Regions from separate parts of the Homo sapiens genome. Here region 1 is linked to region 2. Evidence: promoter capture Hi-C in human tissues and cell types (Jung and others, 2019). All regions are on one chromosome and are shown on one strand. The core of a region is centred on a gene start or on the middle of the fragment in contact, and the rest is flanking DNA. Distances in the headings are between cores, read along the strand shown. Region 1 overlaps GNAL (G protein subunit alpha L). Region 2 holds the start of MPPE1 (metallophosphoesterase 1).

The links. The method cuts DNA at HindIII sites, captures the fragments that hold promoters and counts their contacts. A contact is called where the count stands out against the background at its distance.
Region 1: a contact is called between a fragment that was not itself captured here and the fragment with the promoter of MPPE1 in region 2, in 1 of the 25 tissues and cell types used here (aorta).

The regions. Positions count from the first base shown.
Region 1 is chr18:11,744,694-11,748,291 of GRCh38, reverse strand. The region is part of intron 1 of GNAL (G protein subunit alpha L); the gene reads right to left. It also overlaps the pseudogene ASNSP6. Among named protein-coding and RNA genes, the nearest start is that of GNAL, 57 kb to the right of the region's middle. The HindIII fragment of the contact is 7,412 bases long and covers 1-3,598 here.
Region 2 is chr18:11,906,657-11,910,607 of GRCh38, reverse strand. MPPE1 (metallophosphoesterase 1) reads left to right here and starts at 2,291. Exons shown (of 11, transcript NM_023075.6): 1 at 2,291-2,407. It overlaps LOC101927511 (a long non-coding RNA gene), which reads left to right. Exons shown (of 4, transcript XR_007066296.1): 4 at 1-59. RefSeq lists a silencer at 1,499-1,898. The HindIII fragment of the contact is 9,458 bases long and covers 1-3,951 here.

The sequences.
Region 1 (3,598 bases), core at 133-2,632, 160 kb after region 2:
ACATTCGCACTATTACCTGCATTGTGTGCCACAACACATTGCCAACACTCTAAAACATAAAAGCACTTTCCTTACACAGTGACGAGACATTTCTCATGAAAAATGCAAAGCCAATCTTAGCCTATTTTCAGGTAGGAATTCAACACACCTTAAAAAAATTTTTAACCCAATCACCTGACCTTTTTCTAGTTTGGTCTGGGAAACCGATTCTCATTTGTGTTTAGAACCATTGGATCAGCATCAGGTGTACCAGCTGGCCACCTGGAGCAGTGGGAGCAGGGCTGGTGGGGAGGGTACCAAGAGCAGAGTGGCGCCCGCTGCCAGTGTGAGCGTCTGTTGCTAGGCAACCGCAGCAGCAGCATTGCGCTCCCCGGCAACACACCCACCTGCGGGGACCCAGGGCTGCCCTGGGAGCCACCGGCAGAGGGTCCAGGCTGACTGCGCCAGAGCCAGGAAGAGAAGGTCCTGGTCACCTCGTGGAGAATTTGAAAGGCACAAAAGTAAAACAGTTGTTTCCTCACTCTTGTTGAAGTTTAAGACATACAGGATGTCTCAGAAGTCTTTTTCTTTCTTTTTTTTTTTTAATTTAAGACTTTTATTTTTTTCACACCCCAGTAGGCCTGGGTGATTTTCCTTGCCCCCCTATCCATCCCCAGTACCCCTATCCATCCCCAGTACCCCTATCCTTCACAACAAGAACATTTGCTGTTGCTCTTTGGCTCAGAGAGCACCTAGGCTTAGGTAGCTGACTTGCAGTGGGTCAGTGAGCGGGCATCGATCCATGTGGGCATGCGGTACTGGGTCAGCCACTGCACCCTGCCTGGGTAGTGGCATTCAAGCCTCAAGGGCATGAACAGACTTCTTTGGCTTTAGGATATTGAAGGGAAATTTCTGGCCCACATTTGCTGTCATTGCGTCTTCAACCTGATGTTCAACATATTCCTGTAACACCTTAAACCAGGCATTCTTATTCCATCCCTGAAGGCTTCTTTTGTTCCCCAGAGAATCTCTTCAGGGTCTCAGACTGGAGTCCTCAAATGTCTCTTTCAGGAGCTGTTTCTCCACCTCATCTTTGGAGTTCTCATTTCTGGTGGCAGAGACATGTAACAGGAAGAAAATCGATGATGCAGAAACCAGACTCTCAGTTCAAGGCTGTGGGCAGCGTGGGCAGTTCGATCTGCGCTGAGAACACCAAACAAATAGAGCTCCTTCAGAGGCCTCTCTCTCCTCGGCCTCATGAAAATATACATAACCCTGCATAAGTTCATCTGATCTCTGTCCAGAGAAGATCACCATGCTATCTGTGTTCTTCCAAATCTACTCGGAAATTAAATACTCACCTACTGAAGTGCAAACTGTTGTAATGTCCTAAGTTTCCAAGGAAAATATGACTTCATCCAGAGCCTGAGTGCCTTCCTCAGAGTTCAAGAGGGTTTCATGATGTTCACTTCCAATACGATCTGCCACTCGTCCAGCAACCAATAAATCAGGGCTGCCCTCCATGCCAGTCACAAATGTCTGGGGAGTGTATTTTGCACTGCGTCTCTTTCAGCTGCTTCACCTGGGTGGCAGCAACCAAGCCAGAGTCCAAGCCCCTAATAAAATGGAGCCTATCCTTCTGTCTGTCGTCAAAATTGTCCTTCTCCTTTTTCTCCCTCTCCTTCTTCTTCTTTCTTTTTTTTAGACACAGGGTCTCACTCTGCTGCCAGGCTTGAGTGCAGTGGCACAATCACAGCTCACTGTAGCCTCAACCTCCTGGGCTGGAGGGATCCTCTCCCCTTGGCCTCCCAAGTAGCTGGGACTACAGGCATGTGCCACCACTCCTGGGTAATTTTTAAATTTTCTGTAGAGATGGGGTCTTGCTATGTTGCCCAAGCTGGTCTTAAACTCCTGGACTCAAGTGATCCTTCCACCTTGGCCTCCCAAAGTGCTGGGATTACAGGTGTGAGCCACTGCACCTGGCATTAAATTCTTCTTAATATCATTGTTAAAAAGGAACCAAAGCTTGCTCTTCAAAGTTTCTGTCTCTAAACCTGAGAAGAGCTTCTCCACATTGTTACAGAAGGCATGCAGAGGTTGTACCTACAGTGATGATATTTAACCATTTCCACAGATGCAACTTTGCCATTTGCCTTTAAATCCAAAACTTCATAGTGTCCCAGAACAAAAGGCTCCACTTTTAAAAGGGGAGTCGTGGAGTGCTCCAATGGAACAAGAACTTCAGCTTCTGAAGACACAACCAAAATCCATCTTCTGTTACGGCTTTAAACAAAACCCGACTCCCTAGGTATCTCTGCCCAAGAACACTTTCTTATTGGCAGTATCTAGCAAAGTAATTGCAAATACATCATCCAACATACAAACTGTTTGCTCAATCCCTCTTTTGTCGTAAAGATGACGATTATCTCACTATTCACGTTGGTCTGGTGTTCAAATTCAAAATGGTGTTGCATCTTTTTTTTGTGGTTGTAGCTTTCACTATTGTAACAGGGCTACAAATATGGATATTTCTTCACTCAAATCGGCTGCATTCCAAATAGCTGATCAACCACTGCCAACTGGTGAAATCCAAAGAAGCAGTTGGTGTGTCCATTGGCATTCTCAAAACGAAATGCGTGTGAACAGAAAGGCAGTCGTTGCTGCCAAAGAGGGCCCAAATGCCATATACGGTCCTGTGAAGCCATGGGCTCTGATTTATTCAAATAAATCAAATGTGATGGAAAAGACTAGGCACCAGCGGGTCAGGTTGGAGGGGACAGCCAGGGCCAGGGCTGCAGAAGGCATCTCAGAAGTCTTAGTGCATTTGAAAGTTTAATTATTTAAATTTCTTTTATACTTAGTTTTGTAAATTTTGAATAATAATTTAAAAACTTGGTCTCTTTCAGTCTTTCGGATTGAAGATGGCAAATGTTGAAAAAAAAGTCACCTGTTCTCTGGTTAGCTGAGCTTAAGTCCCCAATAGCAGTAAGAAGGAAATTTGTTTCCCATTATAAGGAGCCTCCCACCCCTGCAGAAATTTAATTAACAACTGGATGAAAGGATGAAAAAATTCAAGGCAGCTGTTTCAGTTCACGACAGGCCAAGATCCAGGAGATGCTGATCAAGTTTGAAAACTGACTAGATGTATGTATAGCACAAGACGGTGGATACATTAAATTTTAATAAAAAAACAATAGATAGAAAATGTAATAACTGGTCTTCTGTAGTCTTTATACTTTAAAGGTTATTAAAGATGAAAACTGCACTAAGACTTCTGGAACAGGTACATCAACAGTTTTAGCGCCCATCACAGTGGCTCACACCTGTAGTCCCAGCACTTTGGGAGACCAAGGAGGGGCAGATTGCCTGAGCTCCGGAGTTTGAAACCAGCCTGGGCAACATGGCGAAACCCCAATTCTACAAAAATTACAAAAGTTAACCGGGCATGGTGGGATGCACCTGTAGTCCCAGCTACTTGGAAGGCTGAGGCAGGAGGATTGCTGGAGCCCAGGAGGTCGAGGCTGCAGTGAGTCATGTTTGCATCAGTGCACTCCAGCCTGGGTGAGAGAGCGAGACTCTGTCTCTGAGGAACAAAACAGTTTACGAAAGGTGAATGGTC
Region 2 (3,951 bases), core at 1,042-3,541:
TCTCTAAAAAACTCCAGGAATTTGTTATTAAATTTTATTAAAGCAAATCCCAGAAATAATATAATTTGCCTGTAAATATGTTAATATGTTTCTCTGAGGCCTTTAAAAATCATAGCCACTATGGTATTATCGTAATAAAATTACCTGAAGTTATTTAATGTCACCTAACATTCAGTCCATGTTTAAGTTTCCCAATTTTTTTTTTTTTTTTTGAGATGGAGTCTCACTCTGTCGCCCAGGCTGGAGTGCAGTGGCGTGATCTGGGCTCACTGCAAGCTCTGCCTCCCGGGTTCACACCATTCTCCTGCCTCAACCTCCCGAGTAGCTGGGACTACAGGCACCTGCCACTACACCCGGCTAATTTTTTTTTTTTTTTTTTTTTTTTTAGTAGAGACGGGGTTTCACCGTGTTAGCCAGGATGGTCTTGATCTCCTGACCTCCTGATCTGCCCGCCTCGGCCTCCCAAAGTGCTGGCATTACAGGCAAGAACCACCGCGCCTGGCCGCCAATGTTTTTAAAAATGCCATTTATTTATGTAAAAGTTTGTTTGTCTTAATCATGACCCAAACAAGGTCCACAAATTGCATTTGGCTAATGTGTCTCTCAAGGTCCCCCCACCCTCTTTTTTTTAAAGACATGGGGGGTCTAGCTGTGTTGCCCAGCCTGGAGTGCAGTGGCTATTCACAGCTGTGATCATAGCTCACTACAGCCTTGAACTCTGGCCTTAAGCAATCCTCCCACTTCAGCCTCTGAACATTTATTTTTGAAAAAAGAAATTGGGTCATTTGGTTTGTAGAATTTCCCACATTCTGGATTTGGCAGATTACTTCCTGGTGGTGTAATCTAATGGGTTCATTTGGCCCCTGTATTTCCTTTAGCCTGTGATTAGTGTTATAAGCTTAACTGGTTCTAGTTTCCCTTTCTTTGTTAGTCAGAGAGAATACTTTAGAGGTGAGGCTGCAAACAATCCACGGTGCCATATTAGTGTGTTTATGGAATCAGGCTGTCCCAGTTTCGATTATGTCAAAGTTGTTCACCTGATCATATCTGAAGATATTACAATATTCTTAATAATAATAACCATTTACCGCATACTTATTGTATACCAGGCATTTTGCTGGCTGTGTCCTATATAATTCCTCAAACCACATCTCCGTGTATTAACCACACTCATAGATTTGTGAAAATGTACCAGAATTGACTGGTTGGAAGGCTCTATGTGGATTATTACTCTGAGCATGTTTACTTCTTGAAATATGAAATAATGGCTCCTGCTTTTAATATACAGGCTTATTTTGAGGATTTTTTGAACGGATGTGAGAGCACTTAGAAAACTGGAACGCGCCGCGCTACACCATTAAAATTAGTAACATCAGTGAGAAAAAAGCAAGTGCATAATAAATATTATAGTTATCCTGATTGTCTCCTTTATTCATCACACACTTCCTAAGCACATCTCTGGAGGGCACTTTCCAAGGCTCCGGGGGAGGAGAGGAAAGAGGCGCAGCCAGGCCTGGTGGGTCCCGGAGGGGCAGCGCGGCGCGGGAGGGGAACGGGGAGGCACGGCCTGGCTGCCACCGCGCGCGGAACCCGGGAGCGGCTCCGGGGCTGTCAGCTGCCCGCCTGGCTCCTCCAAGGCCTGGAGCTCGGACGCGGGCTCTGGGGGCTTCTGGGGCGCGGAAGCGGGCTCGCGGGGAGCAGTGGCCGCCCCCGGCCGCCGCGGTGGCTGTGCTCAGAAGCCGGCCCTGGCGTCAGGAGGCCGGGCGCGCGGCGCGGGGCGCGAGTTCCCCTGCCCGCCTGTGCGCCCCGCAACGGGCCTTTCCTGGGCCCTAACGACAGCTCGCCCGTGCTTCGCCCTCGCAGCTCTCCTGTGTCCCCAAAATGCCTTTCCCGCGTCCCCCGCCCTTCAGCGGTGACTGCCCAGGGGACTCTGTAACGCGACACTCAGACTGCCGAGCCTGCCAGGCACTTCGCGGAGGGCGCTAGGGGCCGGGACGCGGCCGCCGAGCGTAGGTTCCGGCCTTTACTCCGAGTTGCGCACGGAGCCCCAGCTGCGGTTGTCCGCTCTGGGGATCACAGGCCGCGGAGACCCGGGAGCCACCCGCCGGGCCCCTTCAGACGACCCGCTTCCGCAAACCGGCCGTGGGACTCCGGCGCCGGGCGGACGAAGCGGCTCCGGGAAGACTCGGTCTTCCCCGCCCGCCTGAGGTCGCCGGGGCGGGGCTTCAGTGACAGGCCCGCGCGCTACCGCGGAAACAGGAAGTTGGCTGGGTGCGCGCCGGCTCCGGCTGCAGTTCCCGGGTCCCTCGGCCACCGAAGCCACCCTGCCCTGGTGAAAGGGCTCCCGCACCGCCCGGTGCTCCCCATCTGCCTGGCGTTGTGCGCAGAGCTGGAAAGCATGGCTGTTGTATGTATTCTTGCGCCCGTGTGACAACATTTAAACTTCTAAAAACGGAACCTCCTTCCGTGTTAGGATTGCAAGTTAACCTAGGAAAAACAGCATTCTGCAAATTATTTGCTGGAAAATCTCGGTGACTTAAGGCCCATGTATTACTTTGCAGGGGTCTCTCACTCTAGTTTGCTGGTGTAGATTTTTTAAAAAATCCATCTTATCAAAAAATACCGTTTAAGGTGGAAAATTTCAAATGCAAGTCGCAGTTGATGAGATTGCAATTAATATATTTAAGATAGTGAATTAGAGAAAAACTACAGGTCAGTGCATATTAAGTATTTTTTTCATATTTTGGGGGGATTAGATTTTTAACGATAACTTTGAAGTTAAAAATTAAAAGATAGGCTGGGTGCCGTTGCTTAGGCCTGTAATTCCAGCACTCTGGGACGCTGAAGTGGGAGGATGGCTTGATCCCAGAGATGCGAGACCAGCCTGGGCAACATAGCAAGTCCCCCGCCCCCACCATAACAACAAAAGTACCAAAAAAAAAAAAAAAAAAAGCCAGGTGTAGTGGCACGCACCTGAAGTCCCTGCTACTCGAGAAGTTGTGGGGGAAAGGATCGCTTCAGCGCAGGAGTTTGGGGCTGCAGCGAGCTGTGACGCAGCCTGCGGTTGACAAAAAGTCAAAACTCTATAAAATATTTGAAGGGATTAATTCTGAGCCAAATATGAGTGACCATGGCTGGTGACACAGCCATTTGGAGACCCTGAGAACGCGTACGCAAGGTGGTCGGGGCCCAGTGTGGTTTTATGCATTTTAGGGGAGCCATGAGTCATCAGTCAAATACATGTAAGATTAAGATGTACATTGGTTCGGTCCATAAAGGTATGACAGCTGAGGAGGTGGGTGGGTCGGGGGTTTCCGGGTTATAGGTAGATTGAAAATTTTCTGATTGGCATTTGGTTGAAAGATTTATTATCAATGGAAAGGAATGTTTGGGTTACAATAAGAGGCTGTGGAGACTGAAGTTTTATCATGCAGATGAAGCCTCCAGGTAAGTTAAGTGTCCAGCATGTTAAATGCTGGTCTGCTTTTCCTGAATTCTAAAAGGGAGGAGGATGAAATGTGTCAAGTTCCACCCCCACTTCCCATCATGGCCTAAACAAGTTTTGCTTAAAACAACCTAAAACAAGGTTAACTCTGGAATGCCCTTGGTGGGGTCCATGCAGATGGTTGAGGGGTCTTAGGATTTCATTTTTGATTTACAATGGGCGGTGGAGTGAGACCCTATCTCTAAAAATAAATAAATAAATAAATACAAATTGAAAAGTTCAAAGATAAATTTTTTTTTTTTTTTTTTGAGACGGAGTTTCGCTCTTGTTGCCCAGGCTGGAGTGCAATGGCGCGATCTCGGCTCACTACAACCTCCGCCTCCCGCATTCAAGCGATTCTCCTGCCTCAGCCTCCCGAGTAGCTGGGATTACAGGCATGTGCCACTACCCTGGCTGATTTTGTATTTTTAGTAGAGACGGGGTTTCTCCATGTTGGTCAGGCTGGT